2 separate regions of the Homo sapiens genome follow, and region 2 is linked to region 1. Evidence: promoter capture Hi-C in human tissues and cell types (Jung and others, 2019). All regions are on one chromosome and are shown on one strand. The core of a region is centred on a gene start or on the middle of the fragment in contact, and the rest is flanking DNA. Distances in the headings are between cores, read along the strand shown.

Region 1 (4,483 bases), core at 743-3,242:
CTCCAGCGCTGCAGCCTGCCTGAGCCCTGACACCCACACGTCCTGCCAGCAGCCCCAGGAGCTGAGGAAACTGAGGCTGGGAGAGGGTCTCAGACGGCCAGCACAGAGCAGGTTTACAAACCCCGAGGCTGATGTCCCAACTGTCACTGGTGCTGCGACCCTCCCGGCTTCCTCTTAGAAGGTGGGAATGGGGCCAGGCGCAGTGGCTCATGCCTGTAATCCTAGCACTTTAGGAGGCTGAGGCGGGCAGATCACCTGAGGTCAGGAGGTGATCTGGCCAACATGGTGAAATTCTGTCTCTACCAAAAATACAAAAATTAGCCGGGCGTGGTGGCGCACACCTGTAGTCCCAGCTACTCAGGAGGCTGAGGCAGGAGAACGGTGTGAACCCGGGAGGTGGAGCTTGCAGTGAGCCAAGATCGCACCACTACACTCTAGCATGGGCGACAGAGCAAGACTCCATCTCAAAAAAAAAAAAAAAAAAGGATGGGAATGATGAACCACACTGCAGGAGCTCCCACATGGCACAAAGGAAAGAATACTCTCAGGACGGGGTCTCCACCTGCCAAGCCCTCCTACTTCGGGGCCTCTCTACACGCCCTTGGCCTTCCAAGGTCTCAGGGCTCCCCTGCAGCTCCCAGGGCCCTTTCTGGGTGTGACGTATTTTCTCTGTGGTCCCACACCTCCTGCCCCTCCAGGAATTGAGCCCTCGTGGGCAGGCACTATCCCCCAGAATAGGGATTTGTCCCATACTGTGAGAGAGTTTTTTGTGTGAATGGTGCTGGATTTCCAGCTGCTGGTGAACACTCAGGTGTGCCAACAGTGCCCTGATTATGCGAGGACAACAGCAACCATCCCCGTCGTGGGCCACCGTGCCAGACCCTGTCCTGCAGATCCCCTCTGAGGCAGAGCTGGGGCAGTGACAGCCTGAGCCTCAGTTTCTCTGCTGTGAAGTGGGCCCACGACAGCTCCTCCTTCATGGGATGACCCCGTTTGGAGGATCAGGGCAAGCGCAATCCTGCTGCCCTGCCCATGCCCACTCACTCCTACCTCCTGTCCCGGTGGCAGCCTGACTGGACAGAGCCTGGGGTCTGAGCTGGCCTTCCTTCCACTGCCCTTCTGGAAATAGAGTGGCCATACTGCCGCAAGCTGACTATGCTGTGGTCAGGATGAACTCCCCTGGCCTCCCAGGGTGGCCGCCACATGCTCTCGACCCCCAGGCCCCCAGATGGGCAAAGTGCTGAGGAATGAACATATGGAGAAACAGAGACCAAACAACCACTTCAATCATACAACAGGTGGGGGCCCGCCTAGCATCTGGCCAGGGCTCTGGGCACTGTGCTGCCCCCAGCCCACCCCCTGCCACAGGTGGCACAGATGGGCCCATGAGTCAGCGCACGTTCATCCCCTTTGTGCCTCCCCCAGCCCCTCCAGCAGTCTGTGCCCTCATAACCCCCATTTCCCAGGCAGGAAAACCTAAGGTCAGGGAGTGGGAAGCCCTGTGTCAGCGTGGCCCGCAATCAGGGGAACCCCGGACTCTCTGACGCTGTTACTAGGGGCGCAGCAGGCGCTGTGCTGGAGCGATCTGCGGTTCCCAGGGCGAACCCCGCCTGGGAAAAACCCAGCGTGGGCGCCAGCGGCAACGCCCGCTCGCTTTCATGCAGTTTGCCTGGTGGCCAGGGAAAGGTCGTTCTTGGCCTCATTTTGTGGATTAAAAGTGTCCGCGACGGAGGTTCAGAGCAAGACGCAGCGCAGGGTCCTCTGGGGCCATCGGCGTCGCGCCCCCTCCCTTGTGGGGCCCCGCGGGACCGTCTCAGGCCCGAGGGGTTGGGGTCGCCCCAAACTGCGCGCTCTCAGCGTACAGCCTCCAGGCCCCGGGCCCGCCCCGGGTGGAGGCGGAGTCTGGGGCAGCAGCTCGCCGCCGGGCGGGCCGGGGGCGGGCCGGGGGCGGGCGCGCAGCTGGAGCCTGCGGCTGAGGCTCGGGCGCGCTCAGGCCCGGATCCTGGCGGCCTGGGCGGCCGCACCATGGACTCGGGAACCGAGGAGTACGAGCTCAACGGCGGCCTGCCTCCGGGCACACCCGGCTCCCCGGACGCCTCGGTAAGACCTTCCCCCCACCGCTGCATGATCTTGCCAGGCCCTGTCCTTTCGGGGCGCCGCGGCTCCCCGGGCACCTGTGTGCGCCGCGTCCGCACTGCAGAGTGTTGGGGGACGTCCCGCTCTAGGCCAAGTCCTTCCCGCCCCATCAGGGTCAGAACGATGCCCCCGGGAGCTCCAGCCACCCCCGGCAAGTGGGCGGGACGAGGGGGCGTGGGGGCGCAGGGCGGGCTGGCGTCCCCAGCCCCACTAAGCAGCGCCCGCGCTTGGCTGCACGGCGGAGGGGGCCTCGGCGCAGCTCCTCGGGCTAAGGACTGCCGGCGCCCGGCTTTCCCGACCTCCCCCCCACTCTCGCGCGGGCCTCTCTAACTTCAGCCTCGCCGTGCCGGCTCCTCCGCGCACTTTGCCCGGAGGCGGGCGGAGGGGAGTCACAGCCTCCGGGCTCCAGACCAGCTGCATGCAGACAGTTACGTCACCCCACGCTGACCACACAATCTGATGCGTGCCTTGATGGGGGAACTTGGGGCCCGCTGTGGTCCCTATTCCACTCACCTGCCTTGAGAAATAGAAACGTCACACAGCCTTCAGTGTATGCCGCCACCGGCCCTCCAGAACTTGCCCTGCCCGGCCTGGGAGGGCTGTGGGCAGGGGGCAGGCCCTGGTAGTGGTCCCGCTTCAGAATTCTTCATCCCAGGACTCAGCACTTACTGAGCACCTTGTGTTTGTTGCAAGGTCCTGGCATGGCCCTCTGGTGACTTGTTTACTTTGAACATTCTTTCCTTTTCTAACCCCCTCAGGGATGGGGGCAGGGAACAGCAGCCTGTTGGGTTTTTCCAGGCCTCTCCATGGCGTGGACCAGACTGGGGCAAAGACACTCTGCCCACTCGCTGGTGAACAGTCCTAGGCCGGTGCTGTGGGGACAGGACATGTTCGGGGAGGCGGGGCCCCATGAGCCACGGGATAGGATGGCCCTGGGGCTGCATGGACACTTGTTCCTAGGTTAGAGAGGAGCTGTCGCACTGCAGGACTTGACCGGTGTGCGGGACCCCAGCGACCTGGCCCTGCCCCAGTGTGTGAGCACTTTGGAGCAATAGGCAGGGGGCTCCTCCGGCTGTGTGTCCTTGGGAAGTTGCCACACCTCGCTGGGCCTTTTAGACATGGTCTTATAAAGAGAGAACAAAGGGTCTCTCCTGCCTTCAGGGAAGTGGGGAAAGCAAGTCAGGTAATAAACAGGTCAGTGGCTTGGAAGCGCCTTGGAAAGGAAGGGATACTGCTCCTCCCCCAACCCTGACCTTGCCCGGGCAATGCCCTCCACTCAGAGCAGTCTCTGCTCACTTCTGCGGGCGGCAGGATAGGCTGTGCCTCCTGAGATGGGTGCATCTCAAGCCCAGAGGAGATTGGGTTGGATTTGTTCCCGGATCACTGTCTTGGCTCTGGGCACCAGAGGGAGAGAGACACAGCCCCGCCCCACCAAGCCGCGGTTGGAGAGCAGCCCAGCCCAGACAGGGCAGGAGAGGCCAGGGCAAAGCAGGGGGTTCCCTGGGGGCTGGGAGCCCATCGTGGGGGGCGGGGCATGGTGGTCAGGGAAGGCTTTCTGTGGAGGTGGGGACATTGGCTCTGAGCCCTGGAGGGCAGGGAAGGTGGGTGAGCAGATCTGGCTCTCTGAGATGTGTGGAAGGGCATCTAGGCAGAGGGAACAGTGGGAGCAAAGGCTCAGAGGCTGGACCACAGAGCACATGAGGGCCAGGTAGGAGGTGGGGGGATGGGAAGCCAGGCCGATGGGAGGGGCCTTGCAGGCCTGATCACGGTCTGGTGTCCAGGGAGCTGTGGAAAGGCTATGAGCCAGTGTGAGGATGAGCACATTTCCCCTTGAGGGGTAGAAAACTTCGAGGGCCGCTCTGCTCACCCAGCCTGGGGGCCCAGGACCACCCAACACACCTGTTCCTCTTCCCAACCTCAAGACCTTGCTTCTCCGTTTCTTGGGCACATCATGTCAGCACTCTGTGCCTCAGTTTCTCATCTGTGAAATGGGTGTGGTCGCGGTGCCTGCCATAGAGAGTGGTGAGGACTCAGTAGCTGATGTATATGAAGTGCTTAGAGCCAGGCCAGCACTCAGCGCCCTCATCCTTCTGCCTGCCACGGAGACCCTCTCCCACTGGTGACCCCTGGCAGTGGTTTGGAGAGGGCAGCGCTTTGCCCAGCTCCCTCAGTTTCCTTTTCTGTAAAATGGAGAGTCTCAGTTTCCTTTTCTGTAAAATGGGGCACAACTGCTCACCTCCCAGGGTGGACAAGGCTCAGGGAGGAGCCACACGTGGAACTCCAACCTGGGTGGGCTCTGTTGGGCCACGGCCGTGGGAAGCTCTCAGGTCTCCCCTACCCCGTGTGC
Region 2 (4,483 bases), core at 1,028-3,527, 300 kb before region 1:
GTTTCTTTTTATTTTAAGGTGGCTCCTGGAAAATTTTAGATGACATAGACGGTTTCTGTTCTGTGTCTGTTAGACGGTGCTCTGCAGAGAAGCAGACAGGTCATGCATAAGGACACTGAGGCCAGAATGATATCTGACCTTCAGCAGCAGCTCTAGGAAACTGAAGAAAAATGATCCCCCTATTCAGAGAGAAATAGTTTTCAACCTTAGTAGTCTACATTCTGGCAAACTTTCAGTCAACTGAAAGACAGTTAGAGACATGCAAGCACACAAAAGTTTACCTTCTTTGCTGTCTCCTTGAACGTTCCTGAAGGAAGTACCCCAGGAAATAAACTTGTAAACCAATGGCATGGAAGGCATGGGATTTAAAAGCAGGATGTCCAGTATAGGACTCGGAGCAAGTTGTGCAGCAGGTCCAGGAAGCAGACAAGCCCGTGCAGAACAGGAAGTCAGGGGGCTCAGTGGGAAGTCATGGCACCAGTGGATTTGCTGACATAGGGAGTCTTCTGGCTCATTGGAAGACACGTATGTAGACAACAAAGTTATTTTTTGAGAGGTGATAATTTAAGAAAAAAGTTGTACTCTTCCTGGCTCATGTGAACAGTATCTATATGACACAAATAATAATGTGAACTCAAAGACTGTGTGGTATGCTTACACCAGGGGAATGGGGGAGGGAGAGCAAAGTGCACTTGAGTTAGATAACATCTGTCAAGACAGGGAGAAAAAAGATAATGTCTAAAATAAATAACAGCACATGCATACTCCTTAGGAATTGGAAGGTAAATGGCAGAAGAAATGGCTTAACAATTTGTACGTGGTTTCTTGTGACTTCTTATGACTGTATAAGACCAGGGAGCAATAGGGAGGGGAGGCACAAGGGATGCTATTTTGTTTCTATTACTATTTGATTTTGTAAAACTATACACATCAATTAAAATGATAAATATTATAGTTACAGTTTTCTTGTTTTTGTTTTTATTTTTAGAAAAAACAACAACAAAAGCAAGCACAAAAAACAGCAACAGCAAAAGGCTCTATTAGACATCATTATATCCATAGTACTATGTGCGGCACTGTGGGGGATTTTTTTAAATGTAAATAACCAGCAGGCTTATATATAATGCAGCAAGTGTGAAAAGCATCACAGGTCTAATAATAATGTATGTAGATGTCAGTAAAGTATACTTTTGCTTCTAGTGCTTCACTTGCCTCATGATATCCATCAAGCTTTTGAGAAGAAAGTACAGGATCTGTTAGGTTCTTTTTTTTTTTTTTTTTGAGATAGAGTCTTGCTCTGTCTCCCAGCCTGGAGTGCAATGGCGTGGTCTTGGCTCACTGTAACCTCCGCCTCCCGGGTTGAAGCAATTCTCCTGCCTTAGCCTCCCAAGTAGCTGGGACTACAGGCACGTGCCACCATACCTGGCTAATTTTTTGTGTTTTGTGTAGAGACGGGGTTTCACCATGTTGGTCAGGCTGGTCTTGATCTCCTGATCTCAGGTGATCTGCCCACCTCGGCCTCCGAAAGTACTGGGATTACAGGCGTGAGCCACCATGCCCAGCCAAGGATCTGTTAGGTTCTTAACCTAGCAGTTTACCAGATGCATTCCTTGATCAGCCTGCATGTGTCAAACCACTGAGTACCACATGTGTCCACAAAGACACCTCTGAGAGGGGCAGGCGCTGACAAGATCCTGGAGTCAGAGGCTGGGCTGGGCTGTTGCCTGATTGACTATGCGACCCTGGATGTGCCCATCCCCATGTGCTTTGAATTCATCATGGATCACATGAGGGAGTCCACAGAGTATGCCAGATCCTTTTTGGCATCTTTCCCCAAGTCTAAATTTCTTTAGTGTCATTCATTTTTCTGATTTTGTAATTGTTTTGAGTCTATTATTGCCTTATTTTTCTGATTTTAAAGCAATATAAGCTCATTGTCAAAATTTTGTAAAATCCAGAAAAGTATGATAAAGGGAATCAGCATGCTGAGCCCTACTATTCAGCAGCAACCACCAATAACATTTTGAGATACGTATTAACCTATGAGTGTTTATAAGTGTGAATTCTAGAGAGAATATGTAGTAGCCATGAAATCATGTTTTCAACAAATATTCCAGGATATGGGAAGGCACTCATGCTTTCATTTTGAGTATAATATACATTAGTTGTAGCGTGTGTTGTGGCTATATAGTATTCTGTCTTGTGAATGAGCTGTACCATATGCTGTGAATGAACCAAATCATTATTTTGGATGTTTCCATTTGTTTTCAGTGTTTTATTATTATTGTTGCTTTTTGAGACAGGGTCTTGCTCTGTTACTCAGGCTGGAATACAGTGGTGTGATCTGGCTCACTGCAGTCTCTGCCTTCCAGTCTCAAGCAATCCTCCCACCTCAGCCTCAAGAGTAGCTGGGACCACAGGCGTGCACCACCACACCCAGTTGAATTTTTTTTTTTTTTTTTTAAGTAGAGATGGAGCTCTACCATGTTGCCCAGACTGGTCTCAAACTCCTGAGCTCAAGCAATTCCCCCTCCTTGGCCTCCCAAAGTGCTGAGATTACAGTGTGTTATTATTATAAATAACATTGTAACAAACATCACTGAGCATCAATATATTTCTGTCTACTCATTCCCTAAGGATAAATTTCCAAATTAGAATTGTCAGGTCAAAGACTCTAACTATTCTTATCTTAGTCCTTTGATGCCCATTGCCAGATTCCTCCCAGGAAAGGTGGCATCATGTCACCACCCTAATACGATGAACGGGTGTGCCTGTTTTCTGCTCTACGTATGCCAAGTGTTTTCATTTTCAAAAATTTGCACAGCTGATGGATCGAAAATGGTAGCTCTTATTTTTATTGAGATTGAGGGTTTTTGTTGTTGTTGTTTAGTTTACTTTAGTTTTGTTTTTGAGATGGGGTCTCACTCTTGCCCAGGCTAGAGTGCAGTGGCATGATTATAGCTGACTGTAGCCTCAAACTCCTGGACTCAAGCCATCCTCCCACCTTAGCCTCTCAGGTAGCTGAGACTGCAGGCATGGCTAATTTTTTTATTTTTAGCTACCATGCCTGGCTAATTTTTTTCTGTACAGATGGGGTCTTGCTATATTGCCCAGGCTGCTCTTGAACCCCTGGCCTCAAGTGATCCTCTCTTCTTGGCCTCCCACACTGTGGGCATTACAGGCATGAGCCACTGTGCCTGGCTGAGATTGAGGTTTTAATCTTTTTGGCCACATATGTGTATTTTTAAGTAAATTTCCCATTCATGTCTTTTGACACTTTTTATATTGAGGTGTTATTCTCCTATTTCAAAAAAGCTCTTTTTACATCAAGTATAATAATGCTTACCTTATATAATATGTTTTAACTATCTTTCCCAGTTTGTTGCTATCCTGTTAAAAGGATTTTTTTTTGTTTTTAATGTAGAACCTTTCTTAATTTTTATATAATCATATCAACTAAGTTTTTCCTCTATAGTTTTTTTTTTTCCTTTTATTCTTGAAGGGATATTTTTCACCTTGAGATCAGGTAAACATTTACCTATATTTTCCTCTGGTTCTTCCCTGGTGTCACTCATATTGATTAATTGATCTGGAATTTACTGTAGGTATGGTCTATCTAACTTCATTTTTTGCACCTAGTTAGCCAATGTACGAATCCTTTTACTTATTTATTTTTAAATGTTAATGTATAAAAGTAAAAGTAAAATGTTAATGTATAAAAGTAAAGAGTCTAGTGTAAGTCATTTCCACGTACCTGTCACCCAGCTTAGTAATTATCGACTTATGGCCAATTGGGATTTATCTGTGTCCCCTTCCCCTCCTACACTGGATGTTTTTAAAGCAAATTTCAGGCATCATATAATTTTCACCCACAAATATTTCAGTATGAGCTCTAAGGACTCTCTTAAATAAAGACTCTTTTAAAGGCATAACTGCACTACCATTATCATACCTAACATAATATCCGGTCATTGTTCCAATTTCTCTGATTAATACTTTATTGACTTTAAAAAATTCTTTTACCACCAAATAAAACTGAAATTCTTGCAGTAAAAACAATTTAAAACTTAGGGTGATTAAAAACAGTTGGCAACCTGGTTGATGATGGGATGGGTCAAATCAGGGGGTACAAGAACGCAGAAGGCAAACAGTTGCGTAGGATCAGAGCCAGCACAGGCAAGGACCCAGCAGGGGGCAGTAGCAGGAGGTCCATGGAGCCCAGTGGTGTCTGATCCTGCAGGGAATTGGACGCAGAAAGCAGTGGCCCAGTGTGGGGCCAGAGTCAGGGCTCACTTCTCTGAAAGCACAGTTCCAGTCCTGGAGGAACTGTGGTAATAGGAAGGACATCAGACAGGGTCCTCCTTGTGATACCAAAGCTAGTGGTCTAGTTATTAGATGTGGACTGCAGTGCTGGGGCCTGTGCACAACTGGACAAAGCCTAACTCTGTTTATCAGAACCAGATTTCAACATCAGAGTTGAATG

The links. Contacts are between HindIII fragments. The study calls those that stand out against the background at their distance.
Region 2: a fragment that was not itself captured here is called in contact with the fragment with the promoter of NINJ1 in region 1 in 1 of the 25 tissues and cell types used here (heart right ventricle).

What each region holds. Positions count from the first base shown.
Region 1 is chr9:93,131,760-93,136,242 of GRCh38, reverse strand. NINJ1 (ninjurin 1) reads left to right here and starts at 1,992. Exons shown (of 4, transcript NM_004148.4): 1 at 1,992-2,100. The coding sequence starts at 2,026. It overlaps LOC124902212 (a long non-coding RNA gene), which reads right to left and starts at 3,231. Exons shown (of 3, transcript XR_007061665.1): 1 at 2,650-3,231. RefSeq lists enhancers at 682-1,278, 2,738-2,787, 4,269-4,483 and silencers at 1,248-1,297, 1,798-2,027, 2,198-2,447. The HindIII fragment of the contact is 17,238 bases long and covers 1-4,483 here.
Region 2 is chr9:93,427,888-93,432,370 of GRCh38, reverse strand. LOC107987097 (a long non-coding RNA gene) reads left to right here. Exons shown (of 2, transcript XR_007061670.1): 2 at 1-960. Among named protein-coding and RNA genes, the nearest start is that of FAM120A, 22 kb to the left of the region's middle. The HindIII fragment of the contact is 9,352 bases long and covers 1-4,483 here.